Linked DNA regions of Homo sapiens: region 1 is linked to region 2. Evidence: promoter capture Hi-C in human tissues and cell types (Jung and others, 2019). All regions are on one chromosome and are shown on one strand. Each heading gives the region's core, a stretch centred on a gene start or on the middle of the fragment in contact. The rest is flanking DNA. Distances are from core to core; before and after follow the strand shown.

Region 1 (6,049 bases), core at 2,064-4,563, 44 kb after region 2:
GATTTTGCCACTTGTAAGGGGTACGACTTGGTTCCCTTATAGACTCAAGATGTAGCTATCTTTGTGCCAGGATTTAAACTTGGTCCCAAGGAGTTGTTCTATCTAAAAATGTAAATAAGCATATTATACCTACTTTATGAGATTTTGGAAAAAAAATAGATAAATAAGATTAATGTTTTTCCCTTAAGAAGCACATAATCCAGTGGGAGAGAGAGAGACATGGAACGTACAACAGCAATTAGGTATAAGAAGAGCTATGATGGGGGATATACAGACAAGATATCGAATAAATTGGGGCAAGAGTCACATGTGACTTCAGGAGGAGGCCATAATGGTCAGATTCCCAGTGCTCACCATTAGTCATTCATCCTTTTGTGGTCCAAGAATTGGAGTTGTTTAAAATGTCATATACTGGCTGGGCGCGGTGGCTCACACCTGTAATCCCAGCACTTTGGGAGGCCGAGGCAGGTGGATCATGAGGTCAGGAGATCCAGACCATCCTGTCTAAGACAGTGAAACCCCGTCTCTACTAAAAAATAGAAAAAATTAGCTGGGTGTGGTGGCGGGCGCCTGTAATCCCAGCTACCCAGGAGGCTAAGGCAGGAGAATGGCGTGAACCCAGGAGGCAGAGCTTGCAGTGAGCCGAGATCATGCCACTGCACTCCAGCCTGAGCAACAGAGCGAGACTCCGTCTCAAAAACAAAAAAAGTCATATACTGCATGAGCAGGATAACCTACTGATATAACAGAGAGTAAGTAGAAGGGCCATGAGGCCACACAGATAAAGGAGTTTTGTTTTTGTCAAGGGGAAAGGAGGAGTATTAATATTAGACATTAATAGCTGACACTTAGTCTTACTATGTGCCAGCAACTACTCTAAGAACTTTACATGTATCATCTCATTGAATCTTCTCATAATTCCTGTATTATCTTGAGAATGAGAACCTTTTACAGAAAGAGGAATTACAGTTGCAGGTCAAGGAAGGGTCTTTATCGTGGAAGGCAGAGCAAGAGGTAGAAGTTGAGCTGTCTCTGGAGAAAACATTCATGGGAGTATCCCACCCAGAGGGCATGTATCTTGGACTGGAATCTGAGGCACATGGAAATTTTGAGTATCTTAAAAGGACAAGTTGGAAGAGATGATGGGCACAGGAAGGTGGGGTGGAAAATTAACTTTTTCTGAAACTTATGTAACTTTATTTACAAGTTTGGCCCTCAACAGTTTGATACGTGGTCTATCCTCAGATTTTGACTTCCTTAGAAAAATAACCTCTTTCTTTCACATGGACAGAAGGGGACGAAAAATGATAGTCACTGCTAATTTTTTTAAAAAAATGTACTAAGTGCTGGGATCTGTTTCAAGCACTTAGCATACATTATTTCATTTACTCCAAGTAACAGCTGTATAAGGAATGAGCTACTATCATCTCTATTTACAGATGAGGAAATGGAGATTTAGCATGGTGAAGTAACTTATCTAAGGGTCACATCTCTAAATTAGGTATTTGAACCAACATTAAAAACCAGAGCAGTCTGATTCCAGAGCCTACAGTCTCAACCCCAAAAAGAGGAAAGTGTTAGATTATAACTCAAGGCGAAACATTTCTGTTAGGGTGGAAAAATAAAAAAAGTAAATTGCAGCAAGATGTGTCTTTTCAAAATTAAAATATAGTTTAAGCAGTTAAAGATTTTTTGCTGCGAGGCATTACAGACCACTGATAAATGTGTGCTGTCTCAGGCGGAGATTGGAAACAATGCAGCGGTAGCTTTTAGCCATCAGCCTGCGGTTTGCTGCAGCTGTGATTTTCCATGGATGCAGTTTTGGGCTATCTTGTCACTGGCTTTTTGGTGCCAGAGGCTTCAGAATGCTGAAGTTTTTCTCCTTTTTTATTTTTATTTTCTGCAGACTTGACTATGCCTGTATCACCTAAAATTATTACCAGTCATGAGCCCTTTGTCATACTAATGTCTTGCTCCCAGTGCTATTTTTTCTTATTTTAATTTCCTTGTTGTTCCCCAATGTGATTTTTACTCTGAGGCGGGGAAAAAAAACAGTCTGTCTTTTGATGACTTTGTTAGTTTTTCATTGGAAGAAACCTGCAAAAATGCTTTTCAAAACATTTTAAATGGCAGCAAACAGTCTGGGAGGTGTTTAAATGTAATGGAAAAATAAAGGATTCATGAGGAAAGGATTTTCAGAGAACGTGGACAGAAAAAAAGTAAAAGCTGTTTAAAACACAACTTTATCTACCAAAATGACCCATCTAGTGTCTTTACATGTGGCTTTTCTTTCACAGGTGCTCAGGCTCCAAAATTTTGAGTTCAGAACAACAGGCAAATGCAGAATATTTGAGGCAGCAGAGCAGAGCACTGGCTTTAGCAGGCAGTCAATTATTGACATTTACTAGCTGGGAACCTTGGGCAAGGTTCTGTGATTTACCTCTGCCGGTCTCAGTTTTCTCTTTTGTGAATTGACAATAATGATAATAATTAACTCATAGTTGTTATGAAGACTAAATTTTATATATATATATATATATATATATCTGGCTATTTGCCAAGTGCTTGGTACATATTAAAAGCTGAATACTGGTGGATATTTCCATTATTTTATAAGTATCTTTTCTTCTCCTGCATTGATGTTAAAATGACATCAGTAAAAGTGTGTTGGTATTGATTCTGGAAAACTTCTGGCTTCATCTAGTTCAATCTTCACCAGAGCAAAGAATCCTGCTTTTCTCCCAGAGAAATCCACAATGTACTCATTAGTGCCATCCGTGGGCACCTTACTTTCTCTCCTGATTGTTGGAAAACTGGCTCAGACTCTTAGAAAGTTCCTATTCTCAGTACTGGTTTCTAGTAATTTCTACTCATTGGCCTCAGTTCTGTTCCCTGGGGCCACCTAGGAGGGATTTGGTCTCTTTTCCACATGCCCCAAATAAGTGAAAGTATCTGAACAAGTTACTTAACTACTCTGGGCCTGGGTTTACTCATATGTAAAGTGCAGACTAGTGTTTCGCCCTCATGGTGGTATCCTGAGGATTAAAAATATATAGACGTCTGAAGATAGCCTAGCTATAGCAGGTGCTCAATAAGGTGCTCAATAGCAGTCGCTGTAATGTGCTGGCCTTAGTTTAAGAGCCTCTGCAGATTCTGTGAGTGTTTGTCTATGTGGCTGATGACTCTCAATGAAGATTGCCCAATGTCAAATGTTTTCCTGCAGGCCACAGAAGGGATGTTTGGATTTCGATTAATCCACATGGCAGCTCTCCATGGTGGGGGCTGTGTCTTTTTGGTACTCTATTACTTGGCCAAACAGCCCCACTGTGAGGAAGTTTCTTGCTGCCTTGTGTCGCTGGCTTTCATGACCTGGCGGTGGCTTGCCTCACTTTGTACTTCCCATGCCAGTGCTTCCCTGTTGCCCCTGAGGCTCAACAGACCTTGAGAGGTGCCCACATTGGTGCCTTGGTTTACTCAGCCAGGCCAGCAAGACTGCCAGTTGCAGGCTGCAGATGAGGCTCACGGGCACCTATGGGCTCACCCCTCATGCCGTGACTTGTGCCGTGGATGTCACTGCTGCTGCCTCAGGTTCTGGCTTCCCCAGGTGGAAAGGTGCAATTCTGAGATGAGGTGGACTCAATATCCTGTGAACACTTTGAGTAACAGGAGCTCAGAGCTGGGCTTTCTTTTTGCTCCCTGACAGCTCTAGAGTGCAGTAGTTTCAGGCAGTTCTCTCAAGATGCCCTGTGGGACTGAGCATTCAGCAGTGCTTGCTATGAGCATGCTATTGAGCCTTTCCATGACTCATTCCTCCCTTTATTTTACTTCTGTTTTCAGGGATTTCAGTCTCAATAATTTGGGGGGCGTTAGCATATAGCCTTTGTCTCAATCTCTGTGTTCTTGGGAATTCTGGTAAAGATGGGTAACTAGTATTACTATTGCCACTGCTCTTCCTCTTACTCAGATTTCATTTCTTTGGGTTCACCAACCATTGCTTTCATGGCTGATTATCAGCTCTTCACTCCCCTACTCACAAAACAAAGCTTATTTCTCTATTTTGTGAGTCAACATCTTTGGCCCAGTACTTCCCTTCTTTTATTGCCACTGCCAGAGTTTCTCCCTTAATTCTTACTATTTGCTTTCAGATCTCATCTGGTAATTTGATCTAAGGTAATATGACAACAAGTGCAAGTGACTTGACACATCACCTATTGGAGATACTATATTTGAATATTCATAGAAGTTTTCTGAAAAAAGAGCCCCAACTTAACTAGAAACCATGGGTTGGCAAACTTTTCTTGCAAAAGGCTAGGGATTAGGGGATTAAGTATTTTAGGCATTGCCAGCCATGGCCATAAGATCTCTGTTGCAGCTATTGAACTTTACAGGTGTATTGTGAAAGAAGTCATAGCAAATATGTAAATGAATGTGCACAGTGAGTTTCAGTAAACTTCATTTGCAAAAACAAGTGTTTGACCAGATTTGGCCCATAGGTTTTGACTACAGACACTTGCTCTAAACAACGGAATTACAAAAAAAAAAGTGAAGTAGAATTTTGGGAAAATGTGGGTTATTCAATATCTTTCAAATTCAGTTTCCTTAGTTTCAATTCATTTTTAATTCAATAAATGATATTGAGAAGAAAAGGTAACAAACACTTATAGAATTCCCCAATGAACCATATTCTAGGCTAGGGATTTCCATATGACACATCATTTGCTGCTCCTAGCAACCCTATAAAGTCACTGTTGTTATTCTACTTTTTGATGAGATGAATAAGCAGGTCCAGAGATAAGTGAATTGTCTCCTTGTAAAAGGCAGTGTCAAGATTCAAAAATAAGCTTACTTTAACTTGAAGATCTATATTAAAGTATTCTAATTAAGTACATACTGTATGTAAAGTTTTGTACCACTGGCTGCATAGAATACAGAGATGAATGAGATAGTTTCATTTTAGTTAGAAGCAAAATAAAATATCAGCAAAATAAAATAAGACAGGCTCTGATATCCCAACAGAACTACAAAGTACTAAGGGAGTTTAAAGGAGCTGCCTATCAGGCATGTGGGAAGCAGGAAAATCCCATAGAAAGGGTGACAATTAAGGTGGTATTTGAAGAACTAATATGATTTTGAAAGCTAGAGATAAGGAAAAAGGTTGTTTTAAGCGAAGAAAGAAAGAAAAAAAGGAACAGGAAGAAATAGTGCCTACTGAGGAAGTGTGGGTCATCAAAGAGAAGGCTTGCCTTCATAATTGGCCAAAGGCTTTGCTCAGCCCTATCCCTAAAGGCACCCTCTGAGTCTAGCTCTGTCCTGGGACTGACCATTAGTTAAGTGAAGTCATCCTTGTCTAATCTTCTCCTAGAAGGGTGTTTCATTGTGCATGATGGATGCAAAAACAGAATTCTCATCAGTAAAAACAAAAGCACACAGAATGGGAACTAATGAGTCAGAAGTTGAGTAGATATTGGATGAAGGGAAGGCAGAAAATTGTCACAGGTAGTACCAAAGCGGGAGGGCCTAAGATAATGTTCTAATTTAAAAAATGGAAGTTGAAGGCTCATTTTTAGTAGATTCTGGTTTTACTGGATTCTGCAACATAATGACCAACACTTTGCACACATGCAGAACAGCCTAAAGCTATAAAAACTATGACATGACTAAATTCATTGGTCAGCTGTCTTTTGCAATATTTATGACAATTGCAATTTAAATTCTTACTTGAGCAATCATATTTTCCCTGGACTATGAGGACAAATAAGGGCAGGAAATTTGTCTGTCCCGTTCCATGCTGTCCTTGAATTTGGCACATTGCCTTATACATTGTATGTGCTCAATAAATATTTGTCCATTGATTACTTGAATACATGGTTGGATTCAACCAGGTTACTCTACAAGTAGAGAGCTAGAGTCTGAATTTTGTAGTAACTTGTACAACCTTTCTCAGCAGAAGCAGCCTCTTTCATGGAAGTATTCCTGTAATTCACTGGAGCTTCCCACATGCTCCTCCCCGTCTTTGAAGGCTCATAGCCAGAAGGAAGTGCTCAACCAC
Region 2 (6,116 bases), core at 1,823-4,322:
GACATTTGTAAGTCTATGAATTACCAAATGATCACTATGAAGTGAGTGATATAAATGTTTTGAGGCATGAATGATTGTGACTTCAAACTACAAACATTTTAGTACCAAATATGATTTTATTTGCCACTGTTGTTATTTTTTCCTCATTTTTTCAGAATAAAGAAGGAAACTACTTTAAGTGATCATTAATCTTCTTTCTACACACAAGTCTAGAAAGCAACAAAAAGTGGGGCCCTGAGTAACAAAAAGAAGTTATAATTGATTTTAAGTACAGTAAGTTAAGCAAAATTTCAGGCATTCGACCACTCTCTCTCATTTTTCAGTATCCTTAAAAAAATTAGTTCGGGAAGTCCCGTGTTTAAATTTAAGAAGACCAGGGGCTGTTATAACTGATGGAGGATAAGTCATTTAGCCTTTCCCAGCCTCAGTTTCCCCTTCTGTAATAGAAAGATATTAGACAGTTCATAGGAATGGAAAACTTATTTTCTTATTCAAGGGAGAGGAGAAAATAAATGTCTGTTGAACAGAAGAATATGAACATTTATTTATTTTCGTGTGTGTGTGTGTGTGTATCTGTGCATATATGCAACAAGAAAGCATATTTAAGGTGAGAGTAAGAATTAGCTAGGGAAAGACATTAAATAAAGTGCATCTCCACCTTTTGAAGCCATTAATTAAATAATGTAGACCTGGCTTCAAAATTAAACATCACTGTAGTTTATAACTTAGGATGGAATGCTTGCTCTGCATAAGGGTACAGGGTATGAGCCTTGTCAGAAACTTTTGCAATTGAATTTATGAGAGAAACTGGAGAAAATTTGAGTCTTTAAGCAGACCTATAGAGATCAAATTTAAAGTTTGGGCAATGGCTAGATTTGTTTTCTTGTGAGGATGTCAGGGTGACTACAGAGAGGAGAATTGCCAAATATGTAGCTATTCCTCTGCCTTCTTTATCATATACTCTAAGTAAACTGGCTTAAATCCAGTCCTTCTCTCTCCTTTTGCATTGGCCCCTTTTAGAAATATGAAAGTTACAGATGTAAATTACAAAGTAAGCCAGTATTACATGAAAACATGTTTATTGCCTGAATAATAAAACTTAGCTAAGGAGTTATTAGAATTAGGATTCCCCCTACTTGAAGTACAAGTTTCCAATAAACAGACAGACAGAAGCAAAACCCCAAATGAGAAAGAATACATTGGTAACCTAAATCATAGGCATTTGTGGGTATGTTCATACAATCTACCTATTTCTTTGTAATTTACTATAGCACTGATGACAAAGCATAGACATACAATGAGAAAGAGCAAATCAGCATATCAGTGTGACTGTGCAACCACTACAAAGCTTGGCCTTCTTAAATGTGGCCACTTTAACTTACACACACCCACAGAGGCATCAGAAATCTCCCTGCAAACACGATTTGCCTATAGTTTTGTGGCAATACTGTTACATAGAACAAAAACAACTCTCAGACCATGGTTAATAAATAAGAGAGAAAAGAAGTAAGAAACAACTTCCATGGGTTGGCAGGCATGCAAAGCAGCACCTTGAACCTCATTTGAAAAACAGGCAACTGGGATAGCTTTTGGAGCCCAGGAGTGAAGGCTAGAGGCTGAAAGGAGCTATGCACTATTATCTTTGGGTATTTCCACATAATCTGCAGGATGGGGAAGTTTAATTCCGCACCACATAAACTGTGCTCTTTTAGATGTGGCTGAAACGGGTGTCTCTGCAGAATTAGAAACCCATCTAGAAATGACATTGCTTAAAATTGTTCTTTCCAGGTGACAATTCCATAACAATCACATAAATAATGTACAAAAACAAAACTAAAAACAAAGTCACTCAAGTGTCCAATTTTTCTCTTTTGAAAGATGACCTTAGATGTATTCTCAAAGTGCAAATCGGGATATAAAAAAATAGTAGGTATGGGGGAAATGTAGCCCCATCTTCTGTCCCCCACCCTCCAAAACGGGGCTGATTTGATTCCCTCTTTCTAGCATTTGTATCCTTCCACCTATACTTTAAGATAATCATTTTTCAGCCGACCTAGTCGGGTCCCATGGCTCCTAATGGTGAGGGCCAGCAGCTCGTATTTGTCCCTGAGCCCCACAGAGATGTCCAGTGTCTCCTTCAGCAGGGACCTGGTGTGGACCAGCATTCCCAGAAAGTCCTCGTTGAGCCTGCTCTCCTGCCGGCTGTCCTGTTCCTGGCCCTGCTTGAACTTGCTCTCCAGCTCAGTGAGGGATTTGTCCGAGTTGGAGTAGGCATCCCCGATCTGGTGGGACTCCCGCCGCAGGTACTTGCCATAGCTCTCTTCCCCGTCTAGGTCGTAGGAGATGCTTTTGCTGATGCCCTCCAGCACGCGCCCAGCATCCTCCACCTGGCGGCCCAGCACGGTGAACTCCTCCCGCAGGGTGAGGCTCAGCAGGCTGCCAACCTGGCTCCCCTCCCCCTGGGAGCAGCGCCTGTGGTCACTCACCCTGAAGAGCAGCTGGCACTTCTCGGGGTCATCGTTCTCCTCATAGTCCCCATCGGGCACGAAGTAGTGGTGCAGAGTCCCATTGGACATCTCTGGGTAGAGGGGGCCATCGAAGTAGCCTTGACACAGGTGGCAGAAGAAACTCATGCAGAAGAACTTCAGAAACACCATTCTGGATATTCAGGATGGCCAGGGACCCCAGGAGGAGACTTTTTACCCAGGCACAAGGAAGGGAGTGTCTTTGCGAGTCAGCGTCTCCCTGAGACAGCGTCCGCCTCAGTCCCAGCTGGCTTGCTGCTCCCTGGCCCCCAGTCCCCAGCAGGCTTCATGTGGCTCTGCACACCAGCGTCTGGGTAGCGCGCCCGCCGCAGCGCAGGATGCACCCACCCTTGCGCCCCTCGCTCGGTGACTGGAACTCCTCCGGCACAGGCGTAGCGGGGAACCCCTCCTCCGGGGCCCTGGCAAGATGCTGGCTCTGTTGCCCTCCTCTCGGAGTTTCCCCTTGCTCCCGGGAGATGGAGTGTGTAGCTGGAGAGAAAGGCTCTTGCCCCCTGATAGTATTTCAATTTCTGGACTGGGTGGGAATGCGGAGCTTTTCCTTTGGCTAAAGATATCCTGAGGATCTCTCTGCTCTCAAATTACAGCTGGTTTCGTCACTTGGAAGCCAGGGAACAAGTTTGGAAAAGAACCTCTCACCAGGTCTCCACTATTAAAGGTACAGGGTCGCTTTTTAAAGGTTGGAAGGGAAGACTCTACAATAGAATTTAGCTCGAAAGAGAAAATGAGAAGAGAATAAATGGAATTTCCACCACAAAAACCCTGGTTTGTTATTGACATATTGGGAGGGGGAAGGAATGATTACCCTGGAAAAATGCCATTTCACGTGTCTCAATAAATATCAGGTTGGATTTTCTGAGTATATCTATTTTTATCTTTAAAACTTTGTGACTTTGAAGGCAAATTTAAAGTGTCAGAAATTACAGTTTTGTTTGAAAATGATTGGTTAATTAAAATTTATATCAACAATACTTTGGATGAAATGAAAATACAGAAAGTTGCTTAATGTATAGTCTTTAGTATGTATAAGAACAGAAGCAGAAAAATGAAATTTTGCCAGCTTAGTGAGTTAAAGGACAATGAGATCCTTATTTAATTTTATGAAACAATGCTAAGCATCTGCATTGAATCTTGAACCTAATGCTTTTATAGTTGTTGCCTCTTTTGAGAGTCTTGAAAGCTTTTGAAGAATGTTTCTGGTACTATTATGCCCATTTTCCAGATGGAGAAATGAAGGAGCAGAATGTTAAGCAAATTGATTATAGTCACACAGTTAGACTTTAGTTGAGCCAGAACTAATTGTCACAAGGTCTTTTAATTTAACTTGGGGGGAGAAAAACAATGTTTTTTTTTTTTTTTTTAACCTGGCCATTTTAATTTCTAATTTATGAACTTATTGGCAAATGGCCATCCTAAAGGCCATTCATTTGTTTAATGAATATTTCTTGAGCATTTACTGCATGCCAAAATCTATTTGAGGTAGTGGGAATACAGCTGTGAACAAAAATAAAGACAAATCCTTGCCTTCCTGGCACTTATATTTTGGGAAATAGAAAACTTAAATTTTTGAAAATAGGTCAGGCGTGGTGGCTCACGTCTGTAATTCCAGCACTTTGGGAGGCAGAGGTGGGTGGATCACTTGAGGTCAGAAGTTCGAGACCAGCCTGACCAACATGGTGAAACTCCATCTCTACTGAAAATACAAAAAAAAAAAAAAAAAATAGCTGGACATGGTGGTGCATGCCTGTAATCCCAGTTACTCAGGGGGCTAAGACAGGAGTATTGCTTGAATCCAGGAGAGGGAGGTTGCTGTGAGCCTAGATCGCACCACTGCAGTCCAGCCTGGGTGACAGAGTAAGACCTTTTCTCAAAAAAAGAAAAATATGTAAATAAATAAGATGTAAGTTGGACATCAATAGGGCTGTGGAAGAAAAGAAACAGAGGAAGCATGGGAAAGCAGAAGCAGGCAGCACTCCTGTTTCTATGGGTATTTTCTCCTTCTTCCTTGAAATGTAACTGAAACATTCATGTTGACTTGCCAGTGTTCCATACCTATCTCCCTCCCCAAGTAATAAGGGACTGGCTTCATTCAGACTCACAGTGCCACACTGTTCTGGGACAGTTATACTCATTGTCATCACTTTCATGGATATAAACAACCCAGACTCCTGCAGAGAAAATGAGAAGTCTGGTTAAGTAACTTGATATTTTGCTGATGTGGTATCACATGCATGGAGTTTCTGAAGCATGTTGACTGCACATTTTCATTCTTATCCAGATACTTAGCATCATGGAAACATAGACCAAAGGAGTTTTCTTACTGTTTATGCCAAGTGGAAGACCAAGGCCTATTTTCACTCTATCCCAGAAGAAAACTACAACTTCCTTCAGTTGAAAGACTGGACTGTTGGACTCAAGAGCTACATTGCTTCATTCCTTTTTCTCTGGGACATTCAGAAATGACAACAGATGGATTCATATTGGCTGCTTGGCCAAAGAAGCGAAGAGGAATTTACTCTGATTCATTCCATTTCTTGCACAATCTCTCTCTGACTTACTAACCAATTCAATTAAGCAAACCTATATTAAGCACTTACTACTTGCTCCCCACTTGCAGGGTGCAGTATTAAGGTAACTACAGACACAAAGATGTGCAATAAGAAGTTTCAGCCTACAAAGAGCTTGCTCCCTGGTTGAAGAGTCGGGCATATACCCATATAAAGTTATCATACGAAGGGTGAAGAGTGTGAAGAGTGTTTACTTTCTTCCTGCAAAGACCTCATCTAAAGATACACACTCCATATTGTGTATTAGAAAGGAATCATTTTTGTACAAATAACTAAAAGTCCACTTCAGTCTAACTAAGGGCATTAACTTACAGGAAGCCTAAGATTAGATATTCAGAGAAGGCCTAGTCCAACCTAGTTTTTCTCTCACTATTTCTTGGTTTATGTCCTCAGCTTATATTCATGCATGGGCAGTCTCTTTCGTTTGTGTTCTAAGATGATTACCAGTGTCTTCCAGAGCTTTGTGCTTCTTTATTCATATGTAACAGGAATGACAGATTGAATTTCCTGGTAGCTCAAATGCAGCTCCCTCAAATCAGCCTCAGTGGTCATGGGTGGCCTGATTTGGATCATGAATATGTCTTCAAACCAGGCTTACTGTAGTGAGATTTGGGATTAAACCACTTTGCTTAAGACAATAAGGGCCCCATTCTGTAGCTGAAGGCAAGGTATCAAGCAAACTATATGGCTGGGTTATTTAGTGTTCTGTTAAGGAAAGGAACAGTATGGGAGTACATTCTGGGGAAGTAACCATGAATAATTCCCCTACCTTATGGTTTTGTCTTCATTAACCACATCGAAGAGAAACTGCCACCCTTGCTGATAAGTGTTGATCAGTTGGGTATATGGAGGAAAACACCCTGATTTGTAGTATTTGTTGATTTCCTTAGTCTAAATACTCTCACAATGGCTAATGTCATTGAACTCAAAGTTGGGAAGACATGCACAGTGGTATACCATTATATAATCATCATACAGATACATTAGATGCAAATAACCCCAAGAG

Evidence for each region. The method cuts DNA at HindIII sites, captures the fragments that hold promoters and counts their contacts. A contact is called where the count stands out against the background at its distance.
Region 1: a contact is called between a fragment that was not itself captured here and the fragment with the promoter of FIBIN in region 2, in 1 of the 25 tissues and cell types used here (IMR-90 fibroblasts).

What each region holds. Positions count from the first base shown.
Region 1 is chr11:26,947,754-26,953,802 of GRCh38, reverse strand. No RefSeq gene overlaps it. Among named protein-coding and RNA genes, the nearest start is that of FIBIN, 43 kb to the left of the region's middle. RefSeq lists an enhancer at 3,504-4,004. The HindIII fragment of the contact is 4,464 bases long and covers 1,082-5,545 here.
Region 2 is chr11:26,991,068-26,997,183 of GRCh38, reverse strand. FIBIN (fin bud initiation factor homolog) reads right to left here and starts at 3,072. Exons shown (of 1, transcript NM_203371.2): 1 at 97-3,072. The coding sequence starts at 2,657. The coding sequence ends at 2,022. It overlaps LOC124902650 (a long non-coding RNA gene), which reads left to right and starts at 3,073. Exons shown (of 2, transcript XR_007062630.1): 1 at 3,073-3,201; 2 at 4,822-5,285. The HindIII fragment of the contact is 11,169 bases long and covers 1-6,116 here.